Regions from separate parts of the Homo sapiens genome. Here regions 1, 2, 3 and 4 are each linked to region 5. The links are contacts of gene promoters, found by promoter capture Hi-C in blood cells and fetal thymus (Javierre and others, 2016). All regions are on one chromosome and are shown on one strand. The core of a region is centred on a gene start or on the middle of the fragment in contact, and the rest is flanking DNA. Distances in the headings are between cores, read along the strand shown.

Evidence for each region. The method cuts DNA at HindIII sites, captures the fragments that hold promoters and counts their contacts. A CHiCAGO score of 5 or more calls a contact.
Region 1: a contact is called between a fragment that was not itself captured here and the fragment with the promoter of CENPC in region 5, in 2 of 17 cell types (fetal thymus and erythroblasts). The highest score is 10.8, in fetal thymus.
Region 2: a contact is called between a fragment that was not itself captured here and the fragment with the promoter of CENPC in region 5, in 14 of 17 cell types (naive CD4 T cells, total CD4 T cells, fetal thymus and 11 more). The highest score is 23.9, in naive CD4 T cells.
Region 3: a fragment that was not itself captured here is called in contact with the fragment with the promoter of CENPC in region 5 in 2 of 17 cell types (fetal thymus and megakaryocytes); the score reaches 6.0 in fetal thymus.
Region 4: a contact is called between a fragment that was not itself captured here and the fragment with the promoter of CENPC in region 5, in 1 of 17 cell types (fetal thymus). The highest score is 6.6, in fetal thymus.

What each region holds. Positions count from the first base shown.
Region 1 is chr4:67,935,017-67,937,716 of GRCh38, forward strand. All of the region lies in intron 3 of TMPRSS11A (transmembrane serine protease 11A), which reads right to left. Among named protein-coding and RNA genes, the nearest start is that of TMPRSS11A, 27 kb to the right of the region's middle. The HindIII fragment of the contact is 2,511 bases long and covers 109-2,619 here.
Region 2 is chr4:67,915,245-67,917,944 of GRCh38, forward strand. All of the region lies in intron 8 of TMPRSS11A (transmembrane serine protease 11A), which reads right to left. Among named protein-coding and RNA genes, the nearest start is that of TMPRSS11D, 33 kb to the left of the region's middle. The HindIII fragment of the contact is 3,058 bases long and covers 1-2,700 here.
Region 3 is chr4:67,847,690-67,850,389 of GRCh38, forward strand. All of the region lies in intron 3 of TMPRSS11D (transmembrane serine protease 11D), which reads right to left. Among named protein-coding and RNA genes, the nearest start is that of TMPRSS11D, 35 kb to the right of the region's middle. The HindIII fragment of the contact is 976 bases long and covers 798-1,773 here.
Region 4 is chr4:67,996,062-67,998,761 of GRCh38, forward strand. It overlaps the pseudogene TMPRSS11GP. Among named protein-coding and RNA genes, the nearest start is that of TMPRSS11A, 34 kb to the left of the region's middle. The HindIII fragment of the contact is 871 bases long and covers 891-1,761 here.
Region 5 is chr4:67,544,222-67,546,921 of GRCh38, forward strand. It overlaps CENPC (centromere protein C), which reads right to left and starts at 1,282. Exons shown (of 19, transcript NM_001812.4): 1 at 1,117-1,282. The coding sequence starts at 1,134. RefSeq lists enhancers at 1,037-1,276, 1,054-1,604 and a silencer at 1,427-1,566. The HindIII fragment of the contact is 5,245 bases long and covers 171-2,700 here.

The DNA.
Region 1 (2,700 bases), core at 114-2,613, 390 kb after region 5:
TGAAAAAAAACTTTAGATCCTATTGCTTTCTCCTAATTACAACAAGAGTAACATGCAAAGGATATTATATAAGAGGGATTTTTAAAAGACACTTTTAGCCTTAAATAAAGCTTCACTGAGGTTTCATTGCCACAAGGATTGAACTCAAGGTAAAAATAGGGAATTTGAGCCTTTGAGCCTCTGTCCACAATGTTAGACATTCAAGGTCCTCTCCCTCTGTGACCAACTTGCCTGGCTCCATCTTCAACACCACCAGTACTTTCAGGCATGGCCCTCATTTTCCTGCATACTCACGCCTCTCAGGCTGTTCCTTTGGTCTGTAACAACCTTCTCATTCTGCAAGTTCTGTGTTCCTGAATCACAACTATCCTTCAAGGCCAATCTCAGATAATACCTTCTTTGGGGATATTCGTTAATCTCAAACTGACCTGTCTTCCCTCTGTCTCAATTTTTCTTATCCCTCTTATACCTTTTATTCTTTAATGTAAACATATATTATATATTTATGCAATATATTCACTATATATTTATGCAAATATATAGTCTCTTTTATTAAACGGCAAACCCTTTATGCATAGAGATGGCAATTTATCTTTTCATAGTCTATAAAATCTAACATAGTGCTTTGCATGCTGTTGGTATGTAGTATATTTTTGTTGAATTAACAAATTGATAAAAAGGTGAGAATTTATTTATCAGAAAGTTTTGCATTTACCAGGAAAATTTTATAAGACTTTTTAAAGTGCTTGCTTTACATCAGGTTGAGATCAATGCTCCTAGAGAAAAAAGAAAATTACACATGAATTATCGGAAGAGATTTTTTTTTCCTGTTTTTGGACATTTTAGGTAATTGATTATTTGTGGAAAGCTCCTCCTTGGTAAGACTGTAATAATTATAATAGTGGGAATCACTGTTGTCTGCCATATATGCACCAAGCACAGATGTCATTGTGTTTGAGCTCATTTGCTTTCAAATCAGCCCTCTAAGGTGAGTACTATGATTATTCACGTTTCATAGAAGAGGAAGTGACTTGCCCAAGTTGACACCACAGAGTTCACTGAAACCAGGGCCATGTAGCTTCAGAGCCTGTTAACGCCTTCACAGTGCCTACCTCAGGATGAGCATGCAGGTAGGTTCTCACTAAGACCTCCTACCCACTGATGGGCAGCAAGCAGTTTGTAAGAGGATCAGAAACTGTTGCACCCCTCTCCAAAGGCAGCCTATTTTCTTTACTCTCCAAAAATAAGAATCATAATCTTGGTAGTTTTTAGTGCAGTCCTTTTAAGTTCGTATCATATCTGTATAAAACTCTAGGTGTTTTTTTTTTTTTTGGATCCAAGAAGTCAGCTATGAACCATTCTCTCAAGCCTGGATAGAGCTTAGTCAACCTGAGCACTGAGTGATGCTCACAGAAGGCTTTTTGGCCTTCTTGGGGTCAAGCCTAACTGCCACATCTTTAAGTGCTGTGTCTATTGGAGAAAGCAGTTGGATCCAGTGTCATACAAGGTGTGTGGGTGTGGAGGGTGCCATGAAACTGTGACTTTCTGATCACCCTAAACAAAAAGGTAATCAGATCATCAAATGGGATGTGATATTTTGTGATGCCATCAGTCATTTCTTTGATTGCACTGGTCCTTCTTCAGTGTTTCTTTGTGGAATGTCAGAAAGAAATGGACAGACATCTGTCACTACTCACGTGTAACAAGTAGCAATATATTAGATATCCATATCCCAAATTGGCTTATATTTCTGAGATCACAAGGCAAAATATTTATAGAATTTAAAGATTTGCAATTAAGGATTTTAAAGAAAAAAGTATTAATTCTCAGTGTACAACAAAAACCTAGATCTTTGAATTGCTTTTGTAAAAGAGGAAAATATCTCATTTGGATCTATTTAAAGCTGTACTAAAAATATTTAAAACCAGGATACCCAAAGCAAGGGAAGGTCATTATTTAGAAGGTTCATGTCCTCTCCAGATTTGTTGTCTTCTAAATCTCTAAATTGGATTAGTTTATGAGAGAGAGAGAATCATTTTTCTTAGCCTTTTGTAGTGCCTAACATCATGCTGTATTTGCTGAATGATGATGATAAACTAAATAGATTCTCCTGTGAAGACTATGCTGTATTTACAACTTTATCAGGAAATTTAGAAATAGTTCATATTACTTCTTTTCTCAAAAACTTCCCTCAAAAAGCATACCCATCCACACCTTTCTTCCAACTATAGATTGTTCACACTAGATGTACATACACATGTCAATATATCCATCAGCTTCCTTCATCTTTCTCTATTACAGTTCCTCCTACCTTTGCCTTCCTCACCAAAAACTGATACAGGGAAATGAGAAAGAGAATATTTTTCTCTAATAAGTATACCTAATGTATCTGTCAAGAAAAAGTTAGCTAGCACAGCATAGAGGATTTATAATCTTCATGGATTTAAAAAATGAAATGAGAGAAGAATTGATTTAGATTTTAATAATTTTATCTTCTGTCTTAGCTGAGTCCCTTCCTGACAGTAGAACAATTTAGTGGAAAGAGCACATGTGTGGAGTTGCCTAGATGACTTCAAATCTCCCCTCCATCATTTTCCAGCTATGGACCTTAATTTCAGAAGCTTGGTTCTCTTACCTGTAAAGAGGAGATAAAAGTGCCTTCCTTGTGGTGTTACATCCATGTTGCTGCAAAGGACATGA
Region 2 (2,700 bases), core at 70-2,569, 370 kb after region 5:
CTTCCAATGTATTACAAGTTGGTGGCTGCAGACTGTAAGCTAGGTTCTGAGTTTTAGAAACCATTATTATGGCAGGCTACGTAGAAAACTAAGAATAGCACAAGCATTCAGGGATTCTTTATACCAAACCATATATTGATTGGGAAACCATGACCCCATGGTTGGCAGAATTCTAGGATAGTCCCCAAGATTCCTGTGTGATTCCCCTCCTCCCAAATATGGGCAGGATCTGTGAATATGAGGGATGCCATTCTCATGATTAGGTTATGTTATATGGCCAAGATGAGGGAATTTTACAGATGCGATTAAGACCTCTAATGAGTTTGACTTTGAATTCATCAAAAGGAGATTATCAAAGGTGGGCCTGACCTAATCAGCTGAGCCATTTCAAAAAGGGCGAGCCTTGCTGGAGTTGAGACACTTTCCTAAAGAGTTAAAGCAGCAAGCTGGCATGCATTCTACAGCTGCGAGTAAAGGAATTCTGCCAGCAAACCTTGAGGAGACCTTCAAAGGAGCCACAGATGTGGCCACAACCCCAGCTGACACCTTGATTACAGTTTGGTGAGACCCTGAGAAGAGGACTCAACTAAGCTGTGTCTGAACGTCTGACTCATGAAAACAGTGAGATAAAAATAAATGAGTGCTGTTTTAACTGTTTGTGATTATTTGTTACACATTTATAAAAAACTAATACAAGAATACGATATATCATCAGCTATAGTCACCATGATGGATGAGAGATCTCTTGAACTTTTTCTTCCTAACTGCAAATATGAATTTGTTGACCAGCATCTCCCTAACTCCTTCCCCTGTAAAGACCCCCAGCTTCTGGTTGCCTACTGTTGATATATCGTATTCTTGAGAAACGCTACAAGAGTAGATATTAAGTGTTCTTGCCACAAAAATGATAATTATGTAAAATAAGACGCTTCTTAGTTAACTAGATTTAACACTCACAGTGTACATATACTATACTTCAACACATTATGTTGCACATGGTAAGTACATGCAATTTTATACATCAATTAAAAAAAAAACTAAGTACATTTGAAAAAACCCTAATACACCAGTTTCTTTAGAAGACGATTTCCAAGATTTATTTCTGAAGAAATGTTTGTAAACACATATTTAAAAGTGCTCGGAAGATTTAAGTGTGTAACTCAGAAATATGCTAAGAGATTTTTCAAATTATTCTGTTATTTGAATACAATTGGTTTATATATATTATACACACACACACACACACACACACACACACATTTATATTGCCTACTATATCATCAATTAAAAACATTCATGGCCTGGCGCGCGGTGGCTCACGCCTGTAATCCCAGCACTTTGGGAGGCCGAGGCAGGTGGATCACGAGGTCAGGAGATCAAAACCATCCTGGCTAACACGGTGAAACCCCTTCTTTACTAAAACTACAAAACAATTAGCCGGGCATGGTGGTGGGCGCCTGCAGTCCCAGCTACTCGGGAGGCTGAGGCAGGAGAATGGCGTGAACCCGGGAGGCGGAGTTTGCAGTGAGCCGAGATCACGCCACTGCACTCCAGCCTGGGAGACAGAGCGAGACTCTGTTTCAAAATAAAAATAAAAATAAAAATAAAAATAAAATAATGGTGAGAAGAGTAAGGTGAAACTGACAATCTAAGTATTGTAAGTAGGTGACAGTGCAAATCCACAACTTCTTCAGCAAACTAAACTGGTTGGTAAAATGTATTCCAAGTCATGAAAAGCATAGCCCATAAATTCTGGACATCCCTGAGCTATATCTCATCTTCTGTAAAAATGCTTAATGACATTTCTAGCAAAATATTGATTTTATCAAATAATCAGCTTTTTATTTATCAATTTTCTATAGTTTATTTTTAATTTTATTCATTTCTATTCTTATTCTTATTATTTCCTTCCTTATGTTTGTTTTAGGTTTATTTTTTATTTTTCTAGTTTCTTGAAGTGAGAACTTAATTATTGATTTGATATCTTTCCTTATAATATGCATTTTCTATAAATTTCCCTTTCTACACTATTTTAGCAGCATCTGGCATATATTTATATATTTTTGTTTTCATTTAGTTCTATTTGTTTTTACAAATTTCTTCGAGATATTCTCTTTATTTACATATGTTTTTTAATTGGTAAGCATTTGGGGATTTTTATGTTATCTTTCTGTTACTGATGTCTAGTTAGATTCCATTATGATCAGAGAATATACTTTGTACAATTTCAATTTTAAAAAACTTCTTAAGGTTTGCTTTACAGACTTGAATATAGCCTCTCTTGGTGAGTAACGAATGGCTGCTTTTAATCTATTAATGTACTTAACAGATTAAGAATGATAGGTTAATTTAATCTATTTAATAGATTAAAAGCACCTGTGGGTCACTCACCAAGAGAGGCCGTGTTCAAGTAGGGTGGAGTGCTCTATAAGTGTCAGATTCTGTTGCCACTCACAGCGCATTATGACAGGTATGTTTCTGTGCCAGTCTCAAACTCCTGAAAGTGATTTTTCCCACCAAGCCAAAGGGGATTTGTGATGTCTTTCCCACCACTATGAAGCAGAGAATGCAAGCCCTATCTTCAGAGAAAATCCATCCAAGAGAGTGCAGACCTAGGGAGGTGTCAGGCTTACAGCAGCACTAGATCTACTAGAATTAATAAACCATAGGTAATATTTTCTGTGATTGGTAATACAACCT
Region 3 (2,700 bases), core at 36-2,535, 300 kb after region 5:
TGTTTAATGATTTAACTATTTGTTAGAAAGTAACAAAGCTAAGTTTCTTTTTTTGTTTTCTGTGTCTTAAGAAAAGTAATTTAGAGAAAAAATACATGTAAAATGACCTTTGAGTATTTTATTTCAGCACTCCAATGAATTGTTGGTCCTCCCTGGGATGCATATCCTCATTTTGGAGATGACTGTGAACTCCACCGTGACTGTAATCATGTCCTTATTTTGTGTTTCTTAGACACTTGCATCATTTATTCACTCAGTCAACAAATATTTGAACACCAAGTATGTGCCAAATTCTCTTCTAGGCTTTCAGTAACAATCAATTCTTGTTAAATGGATGTGCCTGAAAGGAATTTTACCCGAAATCCCTGATGGTATAAGTTATGTGATAAGATTAATTTTAAATTAATATTGCTTTCTTTCTCCTCCCATGTTCTAGTTTGTTTATGGAAATGCCATTCAATATATTTTGGGAAAAAAGTATTTGTTGTTTGCAGACATTTGTTTCAATGTCACTCCTGATGGCAAAGGAGAGATTTAATGACTCAGTTTATCCCAGGTATTAATCCTGATTGAAGTCTTTTGTTTTATTTGGAGAAAACCATGTAAGTAGAATGCATTCATAGTTTTGATACATGTACTTTGTAAACAGGTACTTTCGTTATTTCTAAATGGCCTCATTCATTTACTTATTCAACAATTGTTTTTGAGCATCTCTTGTGTGCCACCACCTCCCGCCCTCCTTCTGTCAGGTATTGGAATACAACGATGGATAGAAAACAGTAATCTGGCCATCATGAAGCTTATGTCTAATGGATGGAAATAGACCTAATCAAATAATCATTCATAATTAAGTAAAATTATAACTGTGAAAAGTGCAGCAATACAGTAGAGGGACCTGAGCCAATTAATGATATTAGAGACATTTCTTAGAGGAAATGCTTATTGAGCTGAGATTGTCAGGAAGAATCAGACTTAGCTGATTGAAGTGGAAGGAAAAAGGCTCCTCAGCAGAATGAATGGCACATGCACAGTCCTGAGGTGGGAGGAAACAGGTTGTACTTAAGGAATGAAAGAAAGCCAGTGCAACTGTACCATGGAGAGCAAGTAGGCTAGGGTGACAGGAAATTCCCAATCATGCCGGTCTTCGAACTTGAAGCATTTGGTTTTATCATAAACAATGGGAAACCATGGAAGTGTTTGAAGCAAGAGGATAATATAGTGGGATTTGCAATTTGAGAACAATCTGTCTTGCTACATATAGATAATCAGTTTTGGAGAAAAAATAATGCAAATGAACAGATTAGGTTTGTTGCTATTTTGGTACCCTAGGGTAGAGGCGATGGCTTGGATAGTCATGCAGCAATGGATATGGAGAGAGGTGAATGGATTTGAAGGAAATACAGGGGATTAAGAATACAGTGGCTGCTGATGGATAGGATATTTGGAATGATAGTAGAATTTTAAGGATGAATTCTAGGTTTTTGATTTGGATAACTGAATAAATGGTATTGCTATTAATAGGGATAGGTATTGTTGGTGGAAAGCTAGGATGGTGTGGGGACATCATGAGTTTGATTTTGAGAGATAATATATTTGAGTTGTTTTGAAACAGCCATGTAAGGATATCAAGCTGGTAACTAGAGTACAAAAGAATGTCTAGGCTGGAAATATAGTGAATCATTGGCGTATAAATACAGGTTGAAGTAATGGGCATGTATGTATGGGATCATCTAGACAGAATGATAGTGTCAGAGGAGAGGTGGACATAAGTAAAGCTTTGAGGTGTTTCAATATTTAATGGCAGTGTAGAGGAGGGGGAGCCTGTAAAGAACACAGAGAAGTAATGACCAGTGAGGCAGGCTGGGAAAATGAGGTGAATGAGTGCCATGAGTATATCACATTAAAAATAACAAAATCATAGATTTTTTGTGTAAGAATGTACTATAGAAATTATCTAGTCCAACTATTTTATTTTACTCGTGAATAAACTGAGGACCAGAAATGACAAGTGAATTGCTAAATAAAATAAAAAATTCTGAGACTATTTCACTGCTCATTCAGTGTTAACACTTTGTCTATGGGATAGAGATAACAATAATACTCATATTATCATGAGAAATGGTATGATCCTTAGATTTTGAGTCAAGAGACCCTGGTTTGAATTCTCATTATACCACTTTCCAGCTCAATGGCCTTTGATGCGTTTCTTAATCTCACAATCTTTACTTACCAGTCTATACAAATGATTTATAATTTTTATGGCATTGTATTAGAGTACTATTCATGTATCATTTTAAATGTTCAAAGTGTTTTTACAAAGGGATACATATGTAAGATTAACTAGGGAACTCATACATCAGAAGAATTTCATGGAAATCTTGAAATACTAAATATATTGTCAAGCCACAGTACTCTAAATATCCTACTGCTGCAAGCAAAGATTACTTACAGAAAGAGATTAGAGTACAGAAAAAAAGACAAAGAAGGATTTAGTGTATGATAAAGGTGACATGACAAATACATCAACTGCACTATTTAACACACTTAGTGTTTAATAGTGTGTTAAATAGGTGTTTTAACTAGAAAGCATCATCTACAAACCAGAAGGTGGCCCCTCAGACACCAGATCTGCTGGTGCATTAATCTTTGACTTCTCCTGTGAGAAATAAATTTTTGTCGTGCATATGCCACCCAGTCTAT
Region 4 (2,700 bases), core at 76-2,575, 450 kb after region 5:
GGCCCCAGTGTCTGTTGTTCTCTTTTTTGTGGTAACAAGATTTCTAATTAGATATGATTGGCTAAATCTTGGGAGGTAGGAGAAGAGAACCTTAGTAGGTCCTTGTCTCCATTTCAAAGTGCAGGAAAATAAAAAAATACAATCAAATATCTATTAATTTACTTTGATGCCTTACAAACCCACAATGTTATTGTGAAATGTATTCAACTTATGAGAGTAGACAGCTCATTGCACAGTATTCTGCACACTATTGGGCTTTGAATGATTCATGATGAAGTAGCAAATCACTCCCAAGCTCTGGGAGTAGGAGGTGTTAAGTTTAGTTAAGATTATAGAGGTAAGCGTAATGGTGCTACTCAAGTAGTAGATGTTTTCCTTTTCTACTTTTATCAGGAAGTGGCTTTAAGTCTTAAAGGATTTAATTCCCCTTTATACTCATCACCATTTCCTATAGAACAATGCAGATCCCTCAGAGATGAGGAAAATTTGATTATATAATCTGAGATTATAACGATAGTGCATCCACCTAGACTCAACATCAGAATTTTAGAGTGTATATTGGAGGGAAGCCGACTTCTATAAAAATTAACTGATTAGACTCATATGACTTCATAATAAGAGCTTGAAACAAAAATTAGAAATTTGAGGGCAGATTAAACTCTCATATGTAAAAAGTCAACCAATAGACATAAAAATGGGAAAGTCATATCAGGATCTAAACATCTATGTTTGTAGTTTATTGTCAAATTTATAAAGTTTCAGGTTGAAGAACAGCTCCATAGATACACGGATCAGAGGGATCCCATTTAATATTTAGGGCCAGGTAAAGAATAATCATTCAGTTTATTCATTTAAGGCTCTTTCTGTTTAGTTGCATGATGCATTGCAAAAGCTTATCATTACTAGTGCTTGCAAATTATACACTTTATGAATCAAGCAGCCATAGCAGAAACTACACATATGAAAGAAAGCATTTGAAAGAAAAAATGATGTAAAAATATGCTTTAATAAATTTGGAAAATAAAGCTCTAACCAGTTTCCAAAATAGTCCATATAAAGACAATAAATATAGGTACCGTGTAATAGTAATGGTGCTAAAGTTTTTGAAATTCACCACATCTGTTTCTTATTTGTTTGTTTTTGCCATATTTATAATGGGACATCTGATTTCATCTCTTATTTATTTTGATTTTGTATTTTATTTCATATCTCTGTTCAAATGAAGGATAGGTTTATATTTTTTGCTTTGTTGTTTTACTGAGATACTCACCATCTAATTTAAGTGCTCCCCATCCAGTGACAAACACTTTACTCTTAGGCAAGGCTTCAAAAGTAGCTTCTGGAAGACAGACTCTGTGCACCTCATTGGAAAATATGATGGGGGTGAAGAGCTTCACTACAGCGATATCATCCTCGTGTTTATGGGCAGCATAGTTCTCATGAATAATAATTGACTCCCCCTTTCTTCTCATTAGTGAGGGATTCGGGTTATTCCAAAACTAGCCATCCAGAGTTTGGGTTTTTCTTCACTGATCACAGAGTAAAAGGAATACAGTTGGTTCATTTCTAATTTAAATTTGCCCAGGACTGTGGATGGGCAGGGGACATAAATGTGGGAGAAGGGCAAATTTTTTAAGGTAATAATTGATTGGGACCATCCCACCTTCTTATCTGAGGCTTCTCTCCTAAGACTGCTTTGCTTTCATCTACTTGCTAACAAACCGCCATTCCAAGGTAGCTTAAATTACTGTCCTTGAGGGAAGCTTGTATTTTTATATTATTCCACATTATCCTATATTATTGCCATTTTTGACTATAAAAATAATACAAATTAATTTAAGAAAACAAATAATTATAAAGTAGACATATATACACGTAGATTCACATATACACTCATATCAAGGCACAATCATATAAATGTATGTATAGTTATAAAGAGAAAGAGAGGTAAAATTGGAGCGATATTTTATATATTTATATTGTTTCCTTATGCTTTCTTTTTATTTAGCATCTTATCCAGAATATTCTCCCATTTTATATAAATTTTACTAGGGTTACTGTATCTCTTTATTATTTCCAAGTGTTCTATATGTTAAATTGTCGAAAAATATACAAAGAATAAAAGCACAGCACCAAAGGTATTCATGTGGGATCACCAGATATAACCTATAGTTTAGAATACTATTAACAGAGTTTTTTTTTTAATCTAAAATATCTCTCAGGAGAACTGGTGAGTGTGTATAATTTTTCACAATGCTGGCTTGTTCCTACTTAAAATTGAGATTGTTGGAGTGTATATTTTCAGGTGGAACTGAAGATACTCTTTCTAATTTTTTCTGCTCTTCTTCAGTTAACTGTCTTTTATTCCTAAGCCTGCTGGACAATCATAAGTGGCACCGGGAGGCCTAAGATGTTTTCTTCTTTGGGTGTTTGTTTGTTTGTTTGTTTTTTGAGATGGAGTATCACTCTGTCACTCAGGCTGAAGTGTGATGGTGTGATCTCAGCTCACTGCAACTTCTGCCGCCCGGGTTCAAGTGATTCTCCTGTCTCAGCCTCATGAGTAGCTGGGACTATGGGCACGTGCCACCAAGTCCAGCTAATTTTTGTATTTTTAGTAGAGACGGGTGTCACTATGTTGGCCAGGCTGGAGCCTAAGATGTTTATAAAGGAAATGTAAAAGAGAGAACTATAGGATGTGAA
Region 5 (2,700 bases), core at 32-2,531:
GGTTTCTTTAAGATAGAGTCGAGTAAAATTTATTTTCAAAGTAACTTCATCCAGTATGGGCATGCTATACACCAAACATCTCCTAAGGGCTCAAAACAATTTTGAGGTTATGTTATGACATAACATAGGTTATGACAGGCATTTAAAAACTGAACTGCAGGCATCTGGTAAGCTTTATTCCGCTTCTCTCCCCACAGTGAGAATGGCTTTATTGCTTTCTTCTGATTATATATAATGTAAACAATATATGTGCTCATAGTAAAAAGTATAGATTATATTATTCTTTCATACAACTCTTTATGTTTATATGTATAACGTCACATAATGGGAGATCATCGAAGCTGAAGATTTTCTTAGAAGGGGAGATAAATTAGAAAAGAAATGATACGGATTTTTATATAGTAACCATAACCAAAGTATGAAATATAGAATAGTGAACACCAAAGAAGTCCAGAAATATGTAAACAAAATGAGTTGTCGCCCCCATTAGTCATTCACAGCTTGTACCTTTTAACTGATAGCTGTCTTTCAGAAGAGTTTGTCAATAACATATGCTCCATAAATCAGCCTCAAGAACTGCATAAAAGGCCACCATTTTGACAGAAGAACTGAAAACGTCAAATTATTTCGAGACGTACTTGTTACATAATCTGTTTCTCCCAACTACCAAGTGTGACGCAAAGACACACTTTTAAGGCGTTTCAATACTTCTACCATGGGGAGAAAAGTTATTTGGAGGCCTAGGAACTGGAGCTAGACTAAAAAGCAGAAGCCAAGATCGCGCCACTGCACTCCAGCCTGGGGGACAGAGCAAGACCCCGTCTCAAAAACAAAAACAAAAAAAAACCCAGCAGAAATCACAAGCACCTCTCAAGAGTAAGACGTAGGCACAGACGAAATGACGACATGAAAACTTAAGAAATAATAAAAGTACAGTAAATTAACTCTGGTTATCGACACACGATCACACTTGATTTCAAAAATTCCTGCGGCTTTCCCACTGAAATCCCTCAGAGATCACAGCCTCAGCCTAGCATTTCCTTCTCCCCAGCCTCGGGCGCCCGTGCCCCAGCCAGCCGCTCAACCACTCGCCTGGAGCGGGGGGCCTGCACTTACCAGACCGGACGCAGCCATGTTCCGGCCCCGCTGAGCCAGCGCAACTGTCTGAGGTGGAAGCCCACACGGACCACAGCTCCAGGAAGCCGAGCAAGAAACGAATCGCCGGAATACCAGGCCGCGGCCAAGCAATAACCTTAAGTCTCAGGCGACTGCCGCGAGAGCTGCGATCCGGAAGGCGCGCGCTAACAACACTCCCCCGCCATTGGCTCCGCCCTCAACAAACAAGAACGCTTGGCCTGTGCCTGGGTTTGAACCCGGAGACACATGCGCAAAACGGGCCGCGCCGTCCAATAGGAAGCAAGCCGTTAGTGGGCTCGCCCCTTCATGCTCCAGGCCAACGGCCCTCCAGCCTGCAGACCCACCCGCCCGCCCTACCTCTAGCCGCTCTGCTCTTCCCACCTCCCTTCCTCAGCGCCGCGCCCGGGACAGGCGCGAGACTGGGCTTTTATTAGGAAGGCACGATCCTGGGAACCGCTCCTTGTGCCCAATGTAAAACTTCTCAACAGTTCTATTAAGGAATAATAAGTAATACTTGGAAGGATGAGAGGTAGAAATTGCAGACGACTTTTTTTTTAATAGAATCTTTTTTTGAAGAGATTTTTCTAATGCAGATTCGTCAGCCACGCCCAGCCCATCTAACCATCATCTCTGAAAATAATTGAATAATTATGTATAATAATGGTGATGATGGCTTGTATTCTTTTTCAAGTATGTGGGCGATATTTTTATGATGCATTGCCAACAAATGACCCACGTAAATATCTATCATTTAAGTATGATGCACTGAAAAGAATTCTATACAGAATCCTGAAACCTGCCAGCCATTGACTAGCTATGTTATGGAGGGCAAAATTGCGGCACCATTCTGGGTGTTTCCATAGTGATAGAATGGAAGTCTAAATTAGACGCTCTGAAGACTTCTCACCTGACCAGTGTATGATTCTATGAAGCTGTATCTTATTTTATTATTTAATTTAAAATTACAAGAAAATTCTAATCAGAAAATAGTTTACTAATTGAATAAATACATTAATCAGGAGTTGAGCTAATAGATTTTTAAAACATGTAGTGCTTTAACAAATGCTGTCAACTATGAAGGCCAATTTTTTTATTTTATTTATTTTTTTGATAGAAAAAAAGGAACTATGATCTCTGACTGAAATTAGGCCTGGATTGCACTCCATTCCATTAATTCTGCCATTATGGGCAACTAAGTTATCTGTTCCTTAATTCTCTTGTCTGCAAAATGAGAATACTATTAAAGTGGTTGAGATGTTGTAATTGAATAATTCCTGTTAAGATCTAAGCACAATGTTTGGAACATAGTAAGAATTCAATAATAAAGCTATTGGAATCATTATGGAGAGTTTTTTACTATGTTTGGCAGTTTTGCCAATCAGTCCAACTTATAATTTGGTGCTGTCACATTTGGAATAGATAATGATAAACACTAACATTTATTGACTGCATACTCTATGCCCAGTTCTGAAATGCTTTGCATGCATTGAAGAGAACAATTAATATTCCTGTTTTATAAACAAGGGCACTGAAACACAGAGAGCTAAGTGTCTTACCCAAGAT